Regions from separate parts of the Homo sapiens genome. Here all the other regions are linked to region 1. Evidence: promoter capture Hi-C in 16 types of primary human blood cells and fetal thymus (Javierre and others, 2016). All regions are on one chromosome and are shown on one strand. Each heading gives the region's core, a stretch centred on a gene start or on the middle of the fragment in contact. The rest is flanking DNA. Distances are from core to core; before and after follow the strand shown.

Region 1 (3,795 bases), core at 519-3,018:
CATCTCAGAGTAGATTTTAAAACAAGATGGTTAAGATGGTACATTTTCAATTTAATGTGTATTTCACCACAATTAGTAAAGTAAGCCTAAGTCTATGTGATCTGCATGCCCTCCTAAAGTCATCACCTGAAATGCTGTTCCCTGAGACATTTTACAGGTTCTCTCCTGTTCAGGCCTTTGCTAAATACCACCTAAATGTCCTTGACCAGCTTAAAAAAACAAGCACCAGCCTGGACAACATGGTGAAAACCCATCTCCACTAATAATAGAAAATTAGCCAGGCTTGGTGGCCCATGCCTGTGATTCCAGCTACTTAGGAGGCTAAGACAGGAGAATCGCTTGAACTCTGGAGGCGGAGTTTGCAGTGAGCCAAGATTGCGACAACTACACTCCAGCATGGGCAATGGAGCGAGACTCCGTCTCAAAAGTAAAATTAGCCAGGTGTGGTGGCGTGCGCCTGTCTGTAGTCCCAGCTACTTGGGAGGCTAAGATAGGAGAATTGTTTGAACCCAGGAGGCGGGGGTTGCAGTAAGCCGAAATGGCGCCACGGCACTCCAGCCTGGGCAACAGAGCAAGACTCCGTCTCAAAAGACTAAATAAAACGAGAAAACTTAATTAAAAAAACAATAAACCAAGCAAATGTGCAAACCCTGTTATCACCATCACTTAGCCCAGAAATTCCACTTCATAGTCTACTCTCATCCACTAGCAAACAGGCCACATAAACAGAATATAAAGATATAGACGGGTGCCCAGGTGTGCCAGGCCTATCTTTAGCTCTGGTCATTACTAAACTGAAGGTCCAATAACTGGGCAAAAAAGCCACACACCTAAGAAACAGGGCAAAGACTGATCCAGATACACTTTTCCTACTCCACAAGTGCCACTAAAAGTTAGAAGGCTGGTTCCATTTATCCAATGACACAACTCTCATCACTGGAACAGAGGCAACAGAAGGGAGAATGAACCTCACAAGCCCTGCACCCCATCCCTCTGCTGTGGACTCCCATACGCACCTTCGAACAGACGCCGTGGGTCCTTCTCATCAAGCGTCAGCAGTTCCCGGGCGGCCTTGCGGATCTTGGCCAGGGTAAATTTGACCCTCCAGACCTCACGTTTGTTCCGGAGCCCATACTCGCCTGGTGGGGAGAAGGGGGTGGACAAGTGTAGTCCCACGTACTGGCACAACAACTAGACTGGCAGCTTTGGAATCACAAAACCTTCCTAAACCACGAATAGTACCAAATTTAGGGGACGGACTAGATAGAGTACATGGGCACCTTCATCCACGTGCTAACCGCCTCCCGGAAGCCGAACCACTTCCCGGAAGCCTTGGCCACTCACCGATCAGCTTCAGCTCTTGGTCGAGACGAGATTTCTCGAAGGGTCTCCGCGGGGTCACATAAGTTTTGCGACAAACCCAGCTCCGGGCCACTGGCATGTTGGCTCCGCTTCCCCGTCTGCGCCTGCGCGGGAGAGAAGTGTGAGCGTAAGGGATCCAAACGGCGCCTGCGCAGTCCCACAACTACGCCAAAACCTCGCGGAGCCCAGATCCGATCTCGCGAGAATAACCTCCAACGCTCTCATAGTCAGTATCTGCCCCCACAACCGTGCTGCACTCCCGTTCAACCACCCTGCTCTGTTTCCTAACGTCTTTAGCTTACTCATGGAAACTCGGAAGGCCCGGGCCACCATCCAACCCAAACCCTAGAGAAAAAGCACACCACCGCACCTCACCTAAGCAAACCACCCGGTCACTGAGAAAGAGGCGCGGAAGCGCCACGGCTGCGCTCTTATAGTAACGCCGGCGTCTCGTGACGTTTTCACGCACCACGCACGTCAGAGCCAATCAGAAGAGGCGTTGGCTGGCTGAGAAGCAGTGGAGACGTGAGGCTGGGCTAGAGCGGCGTGCTAACCTGGGAGGACTAGGTTTTTTCCGGCCAGGGAGTGGAAACCTGAGAAGTAGGGAGAACCTTCCTTCTCCGCCCCTGGACGGTGGTTTTTCTTTTTCTTTCTGAGACAGGGTCTCGCTCCGTCGCCCAGGCTGGAGTGCAGTGGCGTGATTTCGGCTCACTGAGGCCCCGACCAACCTCTCGGGCTCGAGCGATCCTCCCACCTCCTCCCCAGTAGCTGGGATTACAGGCACACGCCACGACGCCCGGGTAGCATTTTTTTTTTTTAACAGTCGGCGTCTTGCCATGTTGCCCAGGCTGGTCTTGAACTCCCGGCCTCGAGAGAGCCTCCCGCCGTGGCCCCCCCAAAGTGCTGGGATTACAGGCGTGAGCCACCGCGCCCAGCCGAGATTATTTCTGTCACTAACAATAATGTGGCATTCTGGAACGCTATGTGCCACATACTGTTCTAAGAATTTTAAATGTATTTACTCAATCTTCAATACATACTTACAGAGCACTCTCAGAGAAGTTGCCCCCCCACCCATGGTACTATTATTATCAATAGCCACTTAAGGGGTATTAGTACTATTATCAGTAATTTATTTTATTTTTGAGACGGAGTTTTTCGCTCTCGTCACCCAGGCTGGAGTGCAGTGGTGCGATCTCGGCTCACTGCAACCTCCGCTTCCCGGGTTCAATCGATTCTCGTGCCTCAGCCTCCCGAGAAGCTGGGACTACAGGCGCCCACCACCATGCCCGGCTAATTTTTAAATTTTTAGTAGAGACGGGGTTTTGAACTCCTGGTCTCCAACGCCTGACCTCAAGTGATCCACCCGCCTCAGCCTCCCAAAGTGCTAAGATTACAGGTGTGAGCCACCGCGCCTGACCTAGAGTTCTCTTTTTATATATAGTCTGGTTATTGTCTGTCTGTACACCCATCTCTCCACTCCGAATGCGATGGTCTGTCTCCACAGCTCGTGTTCTTCAGTTGTCTTCCCTACGCTGCTGCCTCGGCAGTCACTATCTCCTCAGGAAGCAGTCCCACCCGCCCCTTTCTCTTCCACGGCATCCACACCATCCGGATGCCTGGATTCAAATGCCACGTCACCACTTGCCAGCTGCAGTGCCTTCGACAAGTTTCTCAATCACTCTGTGCCTCAGCGTCCTCCTCTGTAAAACGGCGAATGATGGTAGCGCCTACCTCATAAGCTTGTGAGGATTAAGTGAGAGTCTATCCAGTGTTGAGGAGAGTGGCATAAATAAAGCGCCTAGTGGTAGCTACCATCGTCATTATTGTCATCTGCATTGTACTTCCATATCTTACAAACTACCTTGTTCAGTTTTATGGGTTTTTTGTTTGTTTGTTTTGTTGTTTTGAGACGGGGTTTTGCCATATTGCCCAGGCTGGTCTTGAACTCCTGGGCTCAAGTGATCCACTCGCCTCAGCCTCCCCAAGTGCTGGGATTACAGGTGTAAGCCACCATGCCTGGCCAAATTTTATGCATTTTTGTATCTTGAACACGCGTATATTATTCATCTGGAAGGGGGAAACGTGGAAGGAAAAAACTTCCATAAGTTTTCACTCCCTTCAGGATGAAGTCCAAGCTCCACAAATTCCGGGTGCCTCGTGATTACAGAGATGGTTTTATAATGGTGGTTGAACCTGTAGGTTCTCAAGTCTTAAAAAAGATCTGCGTTTGAACCTCAGCAGTCACTGACGAGCTCTTGATCTTAGGCAAATTAGCCTCTTCAAGAGTGCTAAATGGGAGAAAGTAACAGGACTTTCCTCATAGGGTTTGATGATTTAGAGTAAAAAAAAAAAAAAAAGAAAAGAAAACCAGCACAGAGTCTTGTGTACTGAAGGTGCTTAATATCTTAACACAGCTGACTCTGTACAGTC
Region 2 (3,795 bases), core at 571-3,070, 200 kb before region 1:
TCCCAGCTACTCAGGAGGCTGAGGCAGGAGAATGGCGTGAACCCGGGAGGTGGAGCTTACAGTGAGCTGAGATCGAGCCACTGCACTCCAGCCTGGGTGACAGGGTGAGACTCCGTCTCAAAAAAAGAAAAAGAAAGAAATAGAAAATAAAATCTTGGGTCTTTCTTTTGATATCTTGATCAAGAAAGTTTGATCACTTTACCAAACATGTATTATGTATTTTTCATAAATAAAAGAGAATTTATAAAACAGCTTGAATCATGAAACATTAACGAAACGGCCTCACTTAGCCCACCATCCAATTAAGAGCTACAATCTCATCCCGACCACCTCATCTACCTGGAATCTCCTTCCATTCTCATCCTCCACTTTCCTCCTCTGCAGAAGTAACTGTGCTTGTCGTTCCCTTATTTGTTTTATTTTATTATTTTATTTTATTCTACTTTAAGTTCTGAGACAGAGTCTCACACTGTTGCCCAGGCTGGAGTGCGGTGGAATGATCTCGGCTCACTGCAAACTCTGCCTCCCAGGTTCAAGTAATTCTCCTGCCTCAGCCTCCCGAAGAGCTGGGATTACAGGCGCGCACCACCATGCCTGGCTAATTCTTGTATTTTCAGTAGAGACGGGGTTTCACCATGTTGTCCAGGCTGGTCTCAAACTCCTGACCTCAGGTGATCTGCCCGCCTCAGCCTCCCAAAGTGCTGGGATTATAGGCGTGAGCCACTGCACCTGGCCCCTTATTTGTTTAAAATAGTGTCTCTAAACCACATATTGGAATGAACTTGGTAAAAATGACAACAGAAACCATGAATTTTTTTTTGAAATGATTCGTGAAATCATTTTCAATGCCATAGTTTGAAGCTTTCCAATATAGGTCTATATCACAGTTTTTGTATTTTTGTACCTGTTGATGAACACATGGGCTTCTTTTATTTTAGTTACTTTTCTATTTCTATTTATTTTACTTTCCCTATTACGTAACAGACATTTTTTACATGTTTCTTGGTGCATATGTGCAAGAATTTTTAAAGAGTATACATATAAGAATGGAATGATTGCGCTATAGGGATTGTTAGTTTCAATTTTTTGAAATAGTGTCAAAGTGTTTCCAAAAGTAGCCTTACCAATTTTTTCCTGGCTTAATTGAGATATGATTGACAAATAAAAGCGTATATATTTGGTCAGGCGCGGTGGCTCATGCCTGTAATCCCAGCATTTTGGGAGGCCGAGGCGGGTGGATCACAAGGTCAGGAGATCGAGACCATCCTGGCTAACACGGTGAAACCCCGTCTCTACTAAAAAAAAAAATACAAAAATTAGCCGGGCGCCTGTAGTCCCAGCTACTCGGGAGGCTGAGGCAGGAGAATGGTGTGAAGCCGGGAGGCGGAGATTGCAGTGAGCCGAGATTGCGCCACTGCACTCCAGCCTGGGCGACAGAGCGAGACTCCGTCTCAAAAAGAGAAGTGTATATATTTAAGGTGTACAACATGATGTTTTGACATATGTACACATTGTGAAATAATTACCATAATCAAGATGTTTAACATATCCATCACCTCACTTTTTTTTCTGAGACAGAGTCTCATTCTGTCACTCAGCCTAGAGTGCAGTGGTGCGATCTCAGCTCACGGCAAACTCCACCTCCCACGTCAAGTGATTCTTGTGCCTCAGCCTCCCGAGTAGCTGGGATTACAGGTGTGTGCCACCACGTCTGGCTAATTTTTGTATTTTTTGTAGAGATGGGGTTTGGCCATGTTGCCCAGGCTGGTCTCAAACTGCTGACCTCAAGTGATCCACTTGCCTCAGCCTCCCAAAGTGCTTGGATTATAGGTGTGAGCCACCGTTCGTGGCCACATAGTTGTCATTTTTGCGTGTGTGGCGAGAGCCCTTACGATCTATTCTGCTAACAATGTTTAAGTACATAATACATTTTCACTAATTTGTCACCATGTTGCACAACAGATCTCTTGAATTTATTTTTTTCTATCTAAAATTGTGTACCCTCTGACCACGATCTTCCCAATCCCTACTCCCCTTCCCAAGCCCCTGGTCACCACCATTCCGCTCTCTGCTTCTGTGAGTTCAACTTTTTTTTTTTTTTTTTTTTTGAGACAGAGTCTCACTCTGTCGCCCAGGCTGGAGTGCAGTGGCGCAATCTCGGCTCACTGCAACCTCCGCCTCCCAGGTTCAAGCCATTCTCCTGCCTCAGCCTCCCGAGTAGCTGGGATTACAGGCATGCACCACCACGCCTGGCTAATTTTGAATTTTTAGTAGAGACGGGGTTTCTCCATATTGGTCAGGCTGGTCTCGAACTCCCAACCTCAGGTGATCTGCCCGCCTTGGTCTCCCAAAGTGCTGACAGGCGTGAGCCACCGTGCCCAGCCTCCCGAGTAGGTTTTGCCATGTTGGCCATGGCTAGTCTCGAAGGCCTGAGTTCAACTTTTTAATATTCCATGTATAAGTGAGGTTGTGCGATATTTGTCTTTCTGTATCTGGCTTATTTCATGTGGCATGATGTCCTGAAGGTTGACAATTACATCCATACTGTAAATGACAGGGTTTCCTTCCTTTCTAAGGCTGGATAGTATTTCCACTGTGTATATATACATTTCCTTTACCCATTGTCCACTGATGGAGACTTAGGTGATTCCATATGTTGGCTATTGTGAATAACTCTGCAATACACATAGGGGTGCAGACATCTCTTCCACACACTGGTTTCAGTTTCTTTGAGCATATACCCAGTAGTGGGATTGCTGCATCATGGAGGGTAAGCTTTTTTTGTTTTGTTTTGAGACAGAGTCTCGCTCTGTCGCTCAGGCTGGAGTGCAGCAATCTCGGCTCACTGCAAGTTCCGCCTCCCGGGTTCAAACTATTCTCCTGCCTCAGCCTCCCGAGTGGCTGGGACTACAGGTGCCTGCCACCACGCCCGGCTAATTTTTTGTATTTTTAGTAGAGATGGGGTTTCGCCATGTTGGCTAGGCTGGTCTCGATCTCCTGACCTCAGGGGATCCGCCTGCCTCAGCCTCCCAAAGTGCTGGGATTACAGGCGTGAGCCACCGCGCCCGGCCACAAAAGCAAATTTATGACAGGGACCTGGTGATGCGTGCTGCATCACACCACATCCTTCCATTCCTTTTCACAAAGAGACTCTAGTGGCTCATGCCTGTAATCCCAGCACTTTGGGAGGCCGAAGCGGGCGGATCACAAGGTCAGGAGTTCGAGACCAGCCTAGCCAACATGGCGAAACCCCATCTCTACTAAAAACACAAAAATTAGCCAGTCACGGTGGCTCACATCTGTAATCCCAGCACTTTGGGAGGCCAAGGCCCACAGATCACAGGGTCAGGAGTTCAAGACCAGCCTGGCCAACATGGGGAAACCCATCTCTACTAAAAATACAAAAATTAACCAGGCGTGGTGGCAGGCGCCTGTAATCCCAGCTACTTGGGAGGCTGAGGCAGGAAAATCACTTGAAACCGGGAGGCGGAAGTTGCAGGGAGCTGAGATCGTGCCACTGCACTCCAGCCTGGGCGACAAGAGTGAAACTTTGCCTCAACAACAACAACAACAACAACAAAAAAAAAAAAAAAAAGAAAAGAAAAGAAAAGAAAAAGAAATGATGCCAGGCATGGTGGCTCACGCCTATAATCCCAGCACTTTGGGAGATCGAGGCGGGTGGATCATCTAAAGTCAGGAGTTCGAGACCAGCCTGACCAACATGGTGAAACCCCATCTACTAAAAATACAAAAATTAGCCGGGCGTGGGGGCAGGTGCCTATAATCCCAGCTGCT
Region 3 (3,795 bases), core at 669-3,168, 150 kb before region 1:
TCCAGAGACCCAGCTAAAGTCACCTGCCTGTTCTAAAGGCCCAGCTACAGCCAATCAGCCGATTTCCTGAGCAGTGATGCCACCTCCAAGCTTGTCCTAGGTGTCTGCTGTGAACCTCCAGTGACCCCAGAGACTTTGCTGTAATTATCTGCCCTGCTGACCCTAAAGACCTTCCTAGAAGTCAAGAGCTAGCCTTGAGACTGTGCTATACACACACAGCTGAGAGCCAAGCCCAGTTCTCTGGGTTGTGCTTTACTCCACGCATCAATAAATAATTTTGAAGGCCTCACATCTGGCAGCCCCAGGCCTGGTCCTGGGTGCATAGGTCTCTCGGACCCACTCTCTGCCTTCACAGTTGTTCAAAGCTGAGTGAGGGAAACAGGACTTACGAAAACGTGTCAGCGTTTTCTTTTTAAAATTTAATTGATCAGGATTGTACGTATTCAAGGTGTAAAATGTGATAATTTGTCGTACACGTACATTGTGCAATGACAGTCACAATCAATTCCTCAGCGCACCCATCGCCACAGATACGATACATTAGATATTCTGAACTTGCTCATCTTAGGACTTCACATTGGTGTCAGTGTTTTCTGACAAATCACGTGTATCAGGAATGAATGAGGGAGGTGTGGCTGGGTGAAGGCAGAGAGCCGACCCTACAGGTCCACATCTGCACATACATGCACAGGAATGCATGCTCTCACACACATGCATACACACACGCACACACACAGACATGCACATACACTCACACGCCCCAGGAAATCCAAGGAATCACTGAGCCTGCTGTTGGTTGAGGCATTTCTGAGTATCCACCCTACCTGTAGGGTCAGATGTACTGATTGACACAGAAAATTACCCTATGTACCACTAGGAGGCGGCAGAATCTCATTTGGGTTAATCTGTGTTTGTCTTTAAAAAACAAAAACAGGCCGGGCATGGAGGCTCACGCCTGTAATCCCAGCACTTTGGGAGGCTGAGGTGGGCGGATCACGAGGTCAGGAGATCGAGACCATCCTGGCTAACACGGTGAAACCCCATCTCTACTAAAAATACAAAAAAATTAGCCGGGTGTGGTGGTGGGTGCCTGTAGTCCCAGCTACTCGGGAGGCTGAGGGAGGAGAATGGCGTGAACCCGGGAGGCGGAGTTTGCAGTGAGCCGAGGTGGTGCCACTGCACTCCAGCCTGGGCGACAGAGCGAGACTCCGTCAAAAAAGAAAAGAAAAGAAAAGAAAGATTTTTAAGAATTCAGCAAAAACTCAGCCAGCTCTTTCTATGGGGCAGTTGCTAATTTAGTTCTAGGCAAACGTGGACACATTAAATTCTCCTACAAACCCTCCACAGCGTGCTCTATTATTTTCCTCATTTATAAAAACAGAAACTATGGACCGAGACATGAAGTAACCTGTCCAAGGTCGGCCAAGTCTCAGAGACAGGGGCTTCAGACCCACCTGAGGCTCCTGACTCCACATTATGAACCCCGGGATGGGCTGCAGCTCGGTCTGCTGGGAGGTTTCTGTGCTGGTTCAAAGAGGGTGGTACCTGACTGGCCTACCCAATTTTAATTTGTACTGAGCTTTAATTTTCTATTTGTGCTCAGGTTTAATTTCCTCCTGGGATCTGCTTCCCAGTGCTGTACTCTGTATCTTTGCTTTCTTGTGTGAACATTGTGACCGATTTTCCCTGTTCTTCACGTGGGACACATTCTCCCTGCTCTGTCTGTCTCTGTCCCTGTCTCTCTTTCTGTCTTTCTCTCTCACTGTGTGTCTCTCTGTCTCTCTCTCTCTTTTTTTTTTTTTTTGAGATGGAGTTTCGCTCTTGTTGCCCAGGCTGGAGTGCAATGGCACAATCTTGGCTCACTGCAACCTCTGCCTCCCGGGTTCAAGCGATTCTCCTGCCTCAGCCTCCTGAGCAGCTGGGATTACAGGCATGCACCACCACACACGGCTAATTTTTTGTATTTTTGTTAGAGACGGGGGGCTCTCCATGTTGCTCAGGCTGGTCTTGAACTCCCGACCTCAGGTGATCTGCCCACCTCAGCCTCCCAAAGTCCTGGGATTACAGGCATGAGCCACTGCGTCCAGCCGTCTTTGTCTCTTTTTCTACATCTCTGTCTTTCTTCTCTGGTTGTTTTTCAACCATCAGCTGGGTGTTTTCTCCCATAACGTCTTGTTTGTTTGACTATGAGGTTGACAGGTGGGTACATGAACTCTATAGCAGAAGGTGGACAGTCTGCACATAGCAGAGGATGGGTGAATTTTTCTACCCCTTGCAGAGCACAGGAGAGCTGAGCAGATGCCAGTGTCTGCTCCAGTGTAAGGAAGTCCAGGAAGTTCAGGTGGTGAGGTCACAGTGGAAAGCAGGACAGATAGAGTTTAGGGGAAATTAAGCAAAAATACCACACTGTTATTTCTTGACATATTAGTGGAAAGAGGAAGGGCCCAGAGAGAAGACAGAAAATTAGATGCAGGGGCTTGTTTTTTCTCTTGACTTGCCAACCCGCCCAACGCAGGGGCCAGAACTCAGGGTGGTGAGATCTGGGAACATTGCTGTGCGGAGAAGATGTCCCTCCTGCTGCACGGGCCCCCAAGCACCACCTGGGGGAAGAGCCATGTTTAATTCACCTGGCAGTGCAGTGTGGCCAGGCAGAGAGGGAGGGCCTACCCTGTGCTTATGATCCCACCCCAGTTCCCCTGGGGTGTGCCCTGGCGGTGAACACCAGGAGGCTGCAGTGGGGCCCAACGTGAAAGGGAGGAGCAGCCTCACCGGGGCCAGATGGGGCAGCAGCAGATATTCACAGATGTCCCTGTGAGTAACCAGGGCAGAGGCCAGGGGTCTGGCCTTCCCTTTCTTGGAGCCCTGGGCCAGCTGGGCAAGGCGTTGAGAGAAAGATTACCCGGTGACCTTTATCAAAGCAGAGTAAGGAGGGCTTTATTCAGAACCATCACTGTAGGTACCAGGACCCCAGCGGTGGGATTTTGTAGTAGGGGAAAGAAAATGGGCTCGACGTTGAATACAGCATGAACAAGTGAGAATGTTTGTTATACAAACTATAGGGTGGACTTTTTTTTTCTTTTTTTTAACTTTTTTTTACCTTTTAGTGTAAAACTGAACATAGAAAATAAATTCATGAAGAAGGGATATTTTCTGAGGGTGTCCAGGGCTGCCCAACACCTCGTCTACCTTCTCTGTCATAGCCCCATTTAAAACACTCTCTCTGGATGAATACACCAAACCTCACAGTCTTTGCTCTCTTGCTAGGAAGAGGAGCAAGAGCGTGTTTCACTCTTGGCTCCTGCTTACACACCTGCTGTCCAATGGAAACTACTACTTAAGACATTTAAAAATAGTTGTGGTGATAGCATGTTGTGTTTTGGTTGGTGATGCCAGTTAGTCTCTGAAAACTTTCTGTGATGAGTGTAAAATTCTACACCTTAATCTCCTTTCTTGTAGGATCTGGGAAGCAGTATGCACTTGATTGCACCAAAGATTTTACGTTCATAGAAAATTTCTGGCATCTGTGTGAAGAAAGTAAACTATATCTTCCATTTAGACAAATAAAATATCTTTTTGATAAAAGGTGACTATATGTTTAAGGCTTAGGGAGAAGAAAGAATCAAGGAATATAAATGTGTTGATGTCTAAATGCAATTCTGACACTTAACCAGAGTTAAAAGTGCTTTGAGAGTCCCCAGAGCTCTGCACCTGCTCTACATCTACTGGGATTTAGAGCTAAAGCTTCCTGAAACCGTTGTTCTGCTTGGTCCTTCAGCAGTGACAACCTGTTCTGTT

Evidence for each region. Contacts are between HindIII fragments. The CHiCAGO score rates a contact against its expected background, and 5 or more counts as called.
Region 2: a contact is called between a fragment that was not itself captured here and the fragment with the promoter of RPS9 in region 1, in 4 of 17 cell types (total B cells, naive B cells, fetal thymus and 1 more). The highest score is 6.2, in total B cells.
Region 3: a contact is called between a fragment that was not itself captured here and the fragment with the promoter of RPS9 in region 1, in 1 of 17 cell types (monocytes). The highest score is 5.1, in monocytes.

The regions. Positions count from the first base shown.
Region 1 is chr19:54,198,831-54,202,625 of GRCh38, reverse strand. RPS9 (ribosomal protein S9) reads right to left here and starts at 1,768. Exons shown (of 5, transcript NM_001013.4): 1 at 1,738-1,768; 2 at 1,345-1,466; 3 at 1,017-1,139. The coding sequence starts at 1,441. RefSeq lists a silencer at 1,455-1,948 and an enhancer at 1,711-2,380. The HindIII fragment of the contact is 3,345 bases long and covers 1-3,106 here.
Region 2 is chr19:54,394,837-54,398,631 of GRCh38, reverse strand. No RefSeq gene overlaps it. Among named protein-coding and RNA genes, the nearest start is that of TTYH1, 19 kb to the left of the region's middle. The HindIII fragment of the contact is 1,914 bases long and covers 864-2,777 here.
Region 3 is chr19:54,351,171-54,354,965 of GRCh38, reverse strand. It overlaps LAIR1 (leukocyte associated immunoglobulin like receptor 1), which reads left to right. Exons shown (of 10, transcript NM_002287.6): 10 at 1-3,582. Among named protein-coding and RNA genes, the nearest start is that of LAIR1, 12 kb to the left of the region's middle. The HindIII fragment of the contact is 3,651 bases long and covers 93-3,743 here.